Regions from separate parts of the Homo sapiens genome. Here region 1 is linked to region 2. The links are contacts of gene promoters, found by promoter capture Hi-C in human tissues and cell types (Jung and others, 2019). All regions are on one chromosome and are shown on one strand. Each heading gives the region's core, a stretch centred on a gene start or on the middle of the fragment in contact. The rest is flanking DNA. Distances are from core to core; before and after follow the strand shown.

Region 1 (6,064 bases), core at 2,841-5,340, 890 kb after region 2:
TTGAACAGTGAGGCAGGGGGTATTTACTAGGGTATGGGGTAGATGAGAAGTTGTGCCTCCATCCTCAGCTCTCTAGCCTGTCAATTCAGTAGGATATCACAGTGTGCTGGAACCTAATAACTGTATCCATAGAAACAGAAGTGCTGGGAAGGACGTGAGAAGTTACCTAAATGCTCCTCCCTAGTCTACAAGCAAGATTCTGCGTGAACTGTCTGAAACCAATAAAAATCCATTTGTTTTCAAACCTTCATACCCAGGGATCCAATTTCCTTTTTTTCTTAGTTTTTTTTTTCATTTATTGTGGTTAAAACACACACACACAAAATATGAAATCTACCCTTTAACAAATTTTTAAGTCCATACTTTAGTGTTGTTAACTCTCTGCATGTTGTACAGCAAATCCTTACAATTTTTTCATCTTGCTTAACTAAAGTGCTATACCTGTTGTAAAGCAACTCCCTGTTTCTCCTCCCTTCAGCTCTGGCAACTACAATTTTACCTTATTCTATGAGTTTGACTACTTTAGGTACCTCATATGAATGAAATCATGCAGTACTTGTCCTTCGGTGACTGGCTTGTTTCACTTAGCATAATGACCTTAGTTTATCCATGTTGTCACATATGACAGGATTTTCCTTGTTAGGCTTAATAATCTTCTGTTCTACATATAGACCATATTTACTCATTCATTTGTCAGTGGGCATTTAGGTTCTTTCCACATCCTAGCTATTGCGAATAATGCTGCAGTGAACATGAGTGTGTAAATATCTCTACAAGATCCTGTTTTCAGTTTTTTTGATATGTACCCAGAAGTGAAATTGCTGGATCATATGGTAGTTCTATTTTTAATTTGTGGAGGAATCTTCATACTGCACAGCAGAAGTACCAGTTTGCATTCTCACCCTCAGTGTACAAGGGTTCCAATTTCTCCACAACTTTGCTAACCCTTGTCTATTATTTTAAATAATAACCATCTTGAGGTGATACTTCGTTGTGGTTTTGATTTGTATTTCCCTGATAATTAGTGATTTTGAATATCTTTCATGTATCTGTTGACCATTTGTATGTCTTCTTGGGAGAAATGTCTATTCAAGTCCTTTGCCCATTTTTAAATTATATTATTTGGATATTTTGCAGTTGAGTTGTAGGAGTTTATTACATATTTAATATATTAACCCCTTATCAGATATATGGTTTGCAAATTTTTTCCCATTCTGTAAGTTGCCTTTTCACTCTATTGATTGCTTCCTTTGCTGCATGGAAGCCTTTTAATTTGATATAATTCTACTTGTCTGTGTTTGTTTTGTTACCTGTTCTTTTCTTGTGATATCTAAGAAATCACAGCCAAGACCAAATATGGAGCTTTTTCCCTGGGTTTTCTTCTACTAGTTGTGTAGTTTCAAATCTTATATTTAATTCTTTAATTCATTTTGGGTTGGTTTTGGTGTCTGGTATAAAATAAGGATCCAGTTTTATTCTGTGGCATGTGGATATACAGTTTTCCCAGCACAATTTATTGAAGAATAAGTTCTTACACTTTTGTGGAGTCTTGGAACCCTTGTTGAATATAATTTGATCCCATATATATATGGGTTTATTTCTGGACTCTCTATCCTCTTCCATTGGTCCATATATCTGCCTTTATGTCAGTACCATGCCATTCTGACTATTGTAGCTTTATATATTACAATTTTTTCATCTTGCATGACTGAAACTCTGTATATAATATATAGAGAGTTTGTTGTTACATTTCGACATCGGGAAGTATGAGGCTTCCAAATTCAACAGCATACTGCATACTGCTGTTGAATTTGGTTTGCTAGTATTTGTTGCTAGCAAAAAGTTGCTAGTATTTTGTTGAGAATTTTTGCACTTACATTCATCAGGGATATTGGCCTGTAGTTTTCTTGTGGCATGGTTGACTTTGGTATCAGGCTTATGCTGGCTTTATAAAATGAGTTAGGAAATGTTCCATCCTTTTCAATTTTTTAGAAGAGTTTGAGAAGGATTAGCATTAGTTCTTTAAATGTTTGGTAGAATGATCTGGTGAAGCTATCTGATATAGGACTTTTCTTTGTTGGAAGATTGCTAACTACTGACTCAATCTCCTTACTAGTTATGGGTCTGTTTAGGCTTTCTATTTTTTCTCTATTTAGTCTTGGTAGGTTGTGTGTTTCTAGAAATGTATCTGTTTCATCTAGGTTATCTAACTGGTTGGCATATCATTGTTCCTTGTAGTCTCTCATAATCCTTTTTATTTCTGTGATATCAGTGATATCAGTTGTAATGTCTCCTCTTTCATTTATGATTTCAAGTCTTTCTCAAGAAAGCCAATGTAATTTCTGAGCTCATATCATGTTAATTTATTTCTGCTTCCATTGAAAAAGAAAATTTATTGGTCAGACTTCCCCTGTATCATCCTAGTCTCAGTTTTTAAATCATCCTTTTTCTCTTTGGGAGAGATAAGCCCATTTTTAAAACTTTTCCTATAAATCTGCATAATCCAAAATTTTAATTATCCTCACAGTTCTTTCCTGAGTCTCTTAAGTTCCCTACATTTCACTTAAGTTTTAGAGGCCAAATAGGTTGAAGGAACATTGAAAATCATCTATTGATGTTTCTTCATCAGGGCAGTATTGGCATTTTAAGTGGGACAGTTCTTTGTGATGCAAGGTTGTCCCATGCATGTTTAGAATGTTTAGTAACCAGCCAGGTGCAGTGGCTCATGCCTAGAATTGAAGCACTTTGGGAGGCCGAGGCGGGTGGATCACCTGAGGTCAGGAGTTCAAGGCCAGCCTGGCCAACATGGTGAAATCCCATCTCAACTAAAAATACAAAAAAATTAGCTGGGCATGGTCGTGGGTGCCTGTAATCCCAGCTACTTCAGGAGGCTATGGCAGGAAAATGGCTTGAACCCGGGAGGTGGAGGTTGCAGTGAGCCAAGATCACGCCATTGCACTCCAGCCTGGGCAGCAAGAGAACAGCTCTGTCTCAAAAAAAAAAAAATAAAAATAAAAATAAATAAAAGAATGTTTAGTAACCACGGTTCTCAGGAACCAAAAGCCAACATCTCCCCCAACCCCAGTTATTGTAATAACCAGACTCAAACCTTCTTTCCCTTGTCCAGCAGTGGAGGTCTGCAACTGCCCAGACTACAGAAACTTCACTTAGAGCTGACAGTGCCCAAATGGGCAGAAAGATGGAGCTGGGTGTAGCCCCCTTTTTCTAACTCCGGGTACCATTCTCTTTCCATTCTATTGCACTTCTACTCTGAGATTACATTTATTTTTTAGCTGCCTAGAAATACACTAACATACATAAATGGATGGATAGACTCTTTCGAAGAACGAGAAATTCTGGTTTGGTGTTTAAAGGAGATCATTTTTCTTGATATAGGAACATGGATGAGGGAAAGATAATATTAGAACTCAGTACAGGAAAATGGCAGAGAGAGGACAGCTGTTGGATATGGAGATGGAGACAGGCTTGGACCTCAGGAGAAGTGGTGGGGCTGATGCCACAAAGGTGGCCGGTCAGTTACTGAGAACGGAAAGGGTAGAAAATCTGAAATCTGCAAGATGACTGGGAAAAGGTAAGTAATAAAGTAGTAGTTGTTTTTTTCACTTGCTTTTCACCAAGCACCATAGTTTCAGCTGTCTGCTCTAGGCCACAAGCTTCCTCAGAAAATCAAGGATCGGTTTGTGGGGAGCTCAAAGAACCCTTGATTACAGCCTAACTGCTCTCTCCCTTTAGTCCCAACATCCTTGGCCTCACCTCCTGCCATCCCCCTCAACACTTCTGCCTTCTGCCTCACTTACTTACTGTTGCCAACACCCAGTTCCATCTTTATGCATGCGGAGTATGGGGAAATGACTTGACAACTTCTGTTTCTCCTGATTTCTCCAAGGGCTCAAGTAAAGTTATAAACTAAAAGGAGAGGACATAGAAACAATTGACCTTTGGGGAGTTTCTCCTCCAAAGGCTTGGGGAATTTCTCCCCCGAAATGGCTCTGACCTCTTGAGGCTTTTACCGTAATATAATATGAATACAGCCTCTCCATGAAAAACCAAATTATCATTCACTACTATTTTCTTTGGGTTTAAGAAATCATTGAATTCCCCAGTACACAGGTTACTTAATAATAAAATGAGAAGAATTCATGAATTAACAATACAGTTTCCAGTAGGGGTATCTCAATTTTTATAGTGGGATTACAGTGAGTATCTGCCTCAGCTTCCACAAAATACACACAGTGAGTACAGTGTTGAAAATGAGAACTGGACTAAAGGGTCCTTTTCTTTGATTTCTAGTAAAATGAGGAATACTACATGATAAGATGTATCATCTATGAAAAGGCTACATTTATGGGAATAGAAAAAATAATATCAAAAGACTTTCATTATGTTGTGTTATTTAATTATTTAAAGCTTTATGAGTGAGTTCCTGAGTCAGGTTTTTAAAATATGGGGATTTTTCTGTCTTGTCTTCTTTTTTGCATACGACATCAAGTTATATTTGGCTTCTCAGAATTTCTCATTTCCTGAAATGCACTACTAGCTGTATAAACATGGAAGAATAAATATTAGCTTTATGAGAACACGTTCCTCTACTAGTTGAAAAATAGCATATAATAAAAAATACAAGGATGTAATACTGAAAATTATAGATCAATATGCCCTCTTATTGTGGGCGTATATCTAATCCTCATGCACGGAGTCTGTTTTTTCAGAAAAATGCCCACTGTATAATACCACTTGTGTCTGTGATTTATTTCTACCCCTCATATTTAATAATATATCTTAAGTGACTCTTGCCTTACTAGTGAAATGTTTCAGGCTTATTTTCCACTGTGATTTAAAAAATGAAAAAAAAAAAAAAAAAAAAAAAAAACCTCTCTGGCTCCTTGCCATTAATCCTAAGAATTACACATGATCCAAAATTAATAAAATGTTAGTAGGTTTCCTTCCTGCTGGAGTCCCCCAGCACCCAGTGAATGAGCTCCTTGGGGATTATGTTTGAAAATGTTTATTGGCAATTTTGAAAGAAAAGGAAGTCTTTGCGAGGAGCTTAAAAAAGTAATATTAATTGCAATGTTGCCCAGCTAATCAACACTTGTAAGTGTGCAAATTGTTATTCCAAAATCCAGACTCTATAAACATTTGTAGAAACAATGAAAACTTGGCATCTATTAACTGTGTCCCTTAAACCTCATATTCACACCCCATAAAGAAAAAAAAGAGTAACTCAAATAAATAGTGTATGAGTTGAAACATTCTTTTAAAGCTGGAGGACTCAATATAACTACATTCAGATAATTCACTTCCACCTGAAAATGACCATTCATTTGCCAAAAGTGCCACTGACTTCTCATTGCAAGGATAGTCTTTTCTTCTACAGTAAGTCTCCATTGTTTCTCTTTCTGAAGATGGAAAATAATCAGCCTTGTATATTCTCAGCTCAGCTCAGAAATAAGAAAGTTAGACTTACTAGAACAGCTCCTTCTAATTGTCTCAATTTCTACAGCTTTCTTTTTTTAGACAACAAATTTCAAAAAAATGTTAATTTTTATTGTCAAGTAGCTTAAACCTACAGAAAAGAGCAAAGCGTATGTATTCACCCCCATATTTAAAAATTTTAAAATGTTCTTCAGATATCTACTTCTCCTTTCCCAGAGGTACTATCATGATAATAAGGTTGTTGTATATTATACCATTTATCACATATATAGTTATAATTAATCTCTCTATATATATGTGTGTATACTATATATATATATGTATGTGTATATATATGTATACACACATATATATGTGCAATATTTTTTAAGTTTACATAGATGGGATCATACTGAATATATACCTTTGGAACTTGTTTTTTCTCAATTTTTTTTTTATTTTTTTAGAATCTCTCTCTTAATATATGGAGATCTGTTTCATTCATAGTGGTTAATTGTTGTATAGTTTTCCACAAATGAAGTATGTTCACTTTCTCATAATAGAACCAGTCTGTTGCTTTTTCTGGACAATTACCTGCCTGCACCCACCCATCTCCTCTTTTACAGTG
Region 2 (6,868 bases), core at 1,166-3,665:
GGATTTATCAAGTTTCTCTTTGAAAGAAAATTTCATTTTTCTATTGGATAGTAATCTATTTACAATAACATTAACCAAAATCCCCCCAACCAATGCAAAGCAAACATTGATTGTGGCTTGGTCTGGAAACCTTTCATTACAAATTTAGCTGGGCCATTTAAAAACTCTTATAGGTGCAAGGCACTATGAGAGTTTCTTGGGGGCCACCCCATGACATATCAGAGCATATTAAAATGAACTCATACTGTACATTAAATATAATTTAAATGTAGCTCTGAACATTGAGTTGAATGGCAGGTGACTGGTACCTTTTCTAGGTATTTAAACAATGTTTTCCCAATTTTTCCATTTTCTTCTTTTATTTTGGAGCTAATAATTTTTGTTTTGGGTCCCAAACATTTTCTAGTTTTCTTGAAGAACTTGAGGTGGCAGACACTGAGTCTACAGAACCTAATAGATACAACAGCCTTAGAAATTAGTTCTTGTTTTCTTCTTACTTTTGTAATCAGATAAGCTGTCAACTGAGATCTGACAACTGAACTCCGGTTTTTTAGTTCATGAAAAAGAGCCACATGACTAGTTATTTTTCACTGTGTCAGTTAGCAGGTCTGATCCCTTGAGAAGGAAGAATTGATCTCTTAGGGATATAAAACCCTGCATGCCTTAACATCAATTATAAGTTGCTTCTCAATGTCAACCCGGGCAGCCATTTTTTTTTCCTCAGTAAAAATAGGGAAAACATAAATCAATGTGACAAAATGGTTCCAATTTGATGGCATCTTGGCATTTTGCTGCCTAATCACAACTGAGTGATATAATTCCTAAATGAGAGAATTTTAAGGATTACTTAGGTCTTGTGTATAAAGCTCTGAGTAGAGTTGAGTTATGCTTAGACTTGTGTATAAAGCTCTGAGTAGAGTTGAGTTTGGTCCTAGAGTTTCTCTGCCGTAATACTGCTTGGTTTTGCAAGAATTCTGGTGTGATGATTACAGATCTAGCTTTTTGCTTAGTTAATCAAACCAATATAGTTTCTTTGGCTAAAAGGAATTGATTCATCAAATCTGCAAGCTTTCCCAGCCAAACTCCAGGCTTCAGCTGGATTTCCACTTAACTGTACGGGGTAACAGATCCCAGGCGCCTTTGCTCATATACTTGGAGACCAACTTCGCCAAACTACCCATGCGACTCATGCCTCTGAATGTCCAAAGTCACAGGCCTCGCATTTTCTGTTGATGATAATCTGCTTTGCTAAAAGAAACTCCTGAGTGTAAGGCACAGGTTTTACTTAAAAGTCCAGTTGCAAAGCTTGAATTTACAGTTCTAGGGACACCGAATGCCTGACAATAAACTGGTCTCTAAAGTTATACCATGAGAATGAGTCTGAATTCACCAAGTGGAAAGAATAGGAATGCTGCCCTTAGACTTTAGCCTAGGGGCTGAGGGAGGTCTCGCTGGAAGAGAGGTAAAAGAGAAAAAAGAGGCTGGAGGGAATGTGGGTCCAAATCTCACTCCCCATTTTGAGCTCTTTCCACACCTCCAGTGAAACCGTCACAAAGGGGCTGGAAAGAAAACTTGATCCTGGTGCAAGTCTGTTGGGGAGGGAAGACAGGTGGAGTCCGGGAGGAGATGACAAGTGGCCTCCATTTAGCCATTGATTCATTCATTCATTCAACAAACGTTCTAGAACATACTAGGTTCCAGGCTCTGTGTCATGCAACGTTCTAGAACATACTAGGTTCCAGGCTCTGTGTCATGCAGTTGACTTAACTGGCCCCTAAGGATGAGGCTTTCCGTCTTTCTCCGGGACAAGGCCCAGCTGTCTCCCGGGCAGGGGGACAGGGGGTGCGGGTCGGGGAGGAGGGCTCCTCTGCGCCTCCCTGGTAGCCCAGGTAGCCACTCCCAGAGGGGCCACGACCAACCAGGGCCCTCTCCGCCCACGAGGACGCCAAGCAGACCGCGCCGCCCTGAACCCAGCTCTCAGCCCCCACTCTGCAGGACCCCGCAGAAGGGGCGGGCCGGGAGCCGGGAGGCCGGACCCTGCGCCGCTACCCGCCCGGCCCCGCCCCCACCTTCCGCCCCACCCCGCCGGGCTGCAGGGCTCTGCCTGGCCGGCGCCGACCCCGCCTTACCAGGGTTTTGGCTACGTTCCCCCTCTGGGTGATGTTTTTGCTGTGCTTCTCGTTAGCCATCCGGATCCGCTGTTTGGCCACCATGGCTTGTGCGCTCTGAAATGCTCCCACCTGCAAGGATTCCCCCTGCGTTAGCTCCTGCGACAGGGCCGAGCGCGTCCCGCCGAGGCCCCCGCGGCCCACCCGGGCGCTGCAGGTGGCAAGGCGTGGCCCCGAGCCCTGCGCACCCCGCTCCCCGAGCCCCGGCTAGCCGACTCCAGAGAGAGGCCGCAGCCCGGACGGAAGTAATCTCTCATCTCAGGAAACCCTTTCCGACTTCCTCGCCATCCTTCCGGTCCCCGCAGCCACCTACCCCGCGCGGCCACCGAGGCAGGCGCGACCGCACGTCCTCCCGCGCCGAGCGGCCGGAGCGCAGCGCGCAGAGCCGGGGCCCTGCAGTGTCGCGGTCCTGTAGCCGAATGCTGCGGGGCCGAAGGTTCGGGCGACCACGGCGTTTGTGAGCGCGTCGGGGACGGGGACGCGGCCCCTCCTGTGTTTGTCGGCCGGTGACCCACCCCAGCCCCGGGGAAGGGATGAGGGCGGCCGCGCTTCAGGCCGGGCCGCGCGGTCTCCCCTGCACCGCCGCCCCCTGGACGAGGGCTGGACCCAAGGCGGTGGTCAGGGACCTCAGAACACAAGTAGAACCAGTCCAGGCCCGGGCCCGCGCTGCCCGGGTATGGTCCACCAAACGAGCCTTCTCTTTAAGGGTCTCGAGAAGGGCCCCACGCTGGGGGACCCCACTGCAGAACTTTTCGTGAGGGCTGCAAGGAGGGCCGCGTTGTAAAATAAAGAGGAGACACGAAGCGGCATCCCCTGAGGGTTGGGGATCGGGCCGTGAGGATGGAGTTGGGACAGGCCTTTTTGCTTTGGTAGTTGTAGGGGTTGCATTGGAAGATGGGCCAGCGGCAGAGCGGAGCATGCAGGAAAGAGGAAGAGGCCTTGGACCTGCAGCCCAGGTCGGATTTGGTGGTTACTGTCTAAATCTGAAGCTTTGGCCTGCCTTGACTCCCCACCCACCCAGGGCAGCTTGGACCTCTCTCTAGCCACCCTTGTCCCGAGGGGTCTGAGTGTCTCCCAGACTAAACTGGGCATTTTCTGCAGTGGAAGGATAAAAATGGAAGCGTTTACGCGCCTCCCAGACACTGGTATTAGGGCTCAAGAGCTCTACAGATTGCCTGGGGAGGTAGGGGTGGAAGGGGTTCAGTTCCTCACTTGGAGTTAGCTCTTAGAAGCTCAGAAGAGTGGAGGCGAAGAGGGGACATTCAGCCTGGGAGATCTGGGGCAGCGGGAAGTGGGGATACCGGGTCGGGGTGAAGGCAAGCAGCAGCACCCCCAGCATGGGGAAGAAGGCCTGAGGCTGTCTCTGGCCACTGCATCTCTAGGCCTTCTCTTGGAGCGGGAGGTGGCTGGGTTTCCAGGGAATTTTGTGTGAGTAAAATTTTCCCATGTCATTGGAGAGTTAGGAAGAGCTCCTCTTTTGGGGCCTTTTTCCAAGCGGGTCCCCCTCACCCCGCTACAGGCTTCTTGTCACTCAGGCTTCAATAAAGGCCATTCTGGGGGCTGCTTGCTGTAACCTAGAAGACAGAATTGCCTAGGATCATTAGTAGAGTCATTTTTTTTTTTTCCTACTCTACAGGCCAATTAATTTGAAACAAGCTTCTATGGTCTTTTAACTGTTAGCATCACCACTGTTGTAACAGGACCATAAACCCAGTCTGCCCCACTCTAGTCCCATGTTTTTAATAACTGTTGGCTCTTTTTTAGGGGTTTGGGTGGGGGGATTCCTACCTCAGTGATCCCTGCTGAGCCTGGCTGTTGTCTGTGGTCCAGAAGGTTCCTTTACCTGACTCACTCCTCTCAGATCATGTCCAAATACCAGGAGACTGACCCAGGTCCTCACCAGGTGAGTAGAGGTCTGGCTCTGAGCGACATTAAGGAAAAGACACAGACAGAGACTGTTTTCTCTTTGGGTCTTCACATTCAGTGAGTACAGTTCAGAAGTGTTCTTAACTGAGAGAAGCCCCTTTTGGGGAAAATTTTTCTTTACTGTTGACTCCTTTTTCCTGCTATGCTTCACTTTTCCGGCATTTTAAATTAGTTTGTTTTAATTATGAGTAGACTACATCTACACAGTAAATAGTCAAACAGAAATAGGATAGAAAATGAAAAGTAAAGGTCTCTCTTTCCTTGCCACCCTCCCCAAAAAGTTCCCACGGTTCCTGGGTTGCCCTTCCAGTATATACAAGACTATTTGTATATTCCCTTCTAAAAAAAAACGGAATAGTAGTATGCAAACTGTTCTGCCACGTGCTCTTCTAACTTAATATATCAACATTATCATATCACTTATATATGACCTCTTTCTTGTAGTTGTGTTATGTCTCATAGTATGATTATACAGTAATATATTGAACTGATGTAACCATGGATGATTATTTCCAGTTTTTCTTTTTTTGTGGTTGCCAACAATGCTTCAGTGAATATCCCTGTACATAGATCAGTGTGTACTTGTGCAGGTATATCTGCGTGTGATATTGTGAAATATATATTTGATTGTAGTCCCTGTTTCCTGACCTAAAACTCTTAAATTCCTTGGACTCTCCAGAGTGATGAAAATATCTTACCTTTTGTATGCTAATGAGATGGTTGGTGACTTGGAGACCCTAGATAGCTTCAGGATGGGGACTGGTCACCAGAAAGATCAAGGCAGGATTAGAGGGTTGGGACTTTTAGTCCCACCCTGTCCCCCCAGACCTCCACAGAGAGGAGAGGGGCTGAAAGTTAAGTTGATCACCAGTGACCAATGATGTAATCAATCAGACATATGCAATGAAGCCTGTATAAAAGCCCAAAGGATAGGGTTTGTTGAGTTCTGGAGAGCAGAACATCAGGTTCCTAGAGGGTGGCGTGCTCAGAGAGGATATGGAAGCGCCACAGCCCTTCCCACATTTCTTGCCCTGTGCATCTCTTCCATCTCACTGTTCATCTATATGCTTTGTAATATCCTTCCTCATAAATGAGCAAACAGAAGTAAAGTGTTTCACTGAGTTCTGTGATCCACTCTAGCAGATTAGTCCAAACAAGGAGTGGGTTGGGGGAACTCCAGTTTATAGCTGGGCAGGCAGAGGTACAGGAGACAACCTACTACCTGGGATTGGCATCTGAAATGGGGGGCGGTCTCATAGGATCAAACCCTGAGCCCCTGCTATTTCCAGGTACATAGTGCCAGAATTGAATTGAATTAAAGGACACCCAGCCGGTGTCTGTTGCAGAATTGCTTGGTATGAGGGGAAACATCCCCCACACATCTAGTGTTAAAAGTGTGCTGGCTGTGTGAGAGTGGGAGACAACACTTTGGTTTCTCCTATATCACAACACTGGAATTAGATTCCTGGAAGTGAAATTGCTGCAACTTTTTATGTCCTTGGTTGGATGAAGAAACCTCGTGCTGTGACCTCCACTTTACCTGCTCACACCCCTGCTTTTGTCCTCTGCAGTCAGGCCAGCTCCTCTGCAGGTCTCAGTCCTGTTTATTGCCTTGAGGATCACCATCATGGACCAAGCAGTTTCCCAGCATGGATCCTGGCCCTTCTTATACTCAGCCTCCAGACCCTTATGTGGGGAGCTGGGGCTAAAGTCTATAAGCTGTGTTCCTGGAGTTCCAGAGTCACTACTAGACTACGAAGGAGCAAAGCATGGAGTCGTCTTGCTCTTTCGAGGACTTAGGAGGGGAAAATGGAAACTTGATTAAGGAGAACTTCTCCTGGGTTCATCTATGGTGGCAGCATGGAGTTTTGTAATATACCACTAGCATGCAGTGCTCAACCACAACTTTTAAAATTGTTATGGGCAAAGTGCCAGGAAACTGCTAACTGGTTAAAATTTAATTTTGGCTGGTAAAATTTTCAGCCTTTATTTTTATTTTTGAGACAGAGTCTCACTCTGTCGCCCAGGTAGGGGTGCAGTGGCGCAATCTTGGCTCACTGCAACCTCTGCCTCCCGGGTTCAAGTGATCCTCCTGCCTTAGCCTCCTGAGTAGCTGGGATTACAGGCATGCACCACCACGCCTGGCTTTTTATATTTTTAGCAGAGACGGGGTTTCACCATATTGGCCAGGGTGGTCTTGAATTCCTGTCCTCAAGTGATCTGCCCACCTCAGCCTCCCAAAATGCAGGGATTACAGGTGTGAGCCACCATGCCCAGCCAATTTTCAGCCTTTAGAGCAAGAAATCCTAACAAGCCTATGCCCATTAATCATAAATCTGCCCCACTTAGGGCACTGGATGTGTGGCTGTACAGACTGAGTTTTACCCATCTTTATAAATGATGCTACACTACTAAACTGTGATGCATTGGACATCTCTCATTTTTCTGTGGCTGACCAGCATGCAAACATTCTTTATATTTGGGGCACTCCATCACTGTGAGAGTCTTAGGACCTTCTTTCCCACCGTGGAGCATAAGGGGGCCACATACTTGGTCTCCCAACCCCTCACAGCTAGGGTGGCGTGTGATCTGGCCAATGAGATTCTCCTTTTGGGAACTGTGAATCTTGATCAAGTGGTGCAAAGACAGAGACACGTTAAAATTCATCTTGGTGGTCGAGTTTCTAGAGACTGGTAGTACCTAGCAATCATGGTGGAACCAGTGACAGTATCCTTTTTATTCCGTGGTACCTGAAATCCTTACAATAAATTCTT

Evidence for each region. Contacts are between HindIII fragments. The study calls those that stand out against the background at their distance.
Region 1: a contact is called between a fragment that was not itself captured here and the fragment with the promoter of SERP2 in region 2, in 2 of the 25 tissues and cell types used here (aorta and dorsolateral prefrontal cortex).

What each region holds. Positions count from the first base shown.
Region 1 is chr13:43,476,882-43,482,945 of GRCh38, reverse strand. All of the region lies in intron 3 of ENOX1 (ecto-NOX disulfide-thiol exchanger 1), which reads left to right. Among named protein-coding and RNA genes, the nearest start is that of ENOX1-AS2, 31 kb to the right of the region's middle. The HindIII fragment of the contact is 4,962 bases long and covers 1,610-6,064 here.
Region 2 is chr13:44,369,371-44,376,238 of GRCh38, reverse strand. It overlaps SERP2 (stress associated endoplasmic reticulum protein family member 2), which reads right to left and starts at 2,415. Exons shown (of 3, transcript NM_001010897.3): 1 at 2,130-2,415. The coding sequence starts at 2,213. LOC105370297 (a long non-coding RNA gene) reads left to right here and starts at 2,673. Exons shown (of 2, transcript XR_001749858.3): 1 at 2,673-2,842; 2 at 3,042-6,868. The HindIII fragment of the contact is 4,304 bases long and covers 1-3,491 here.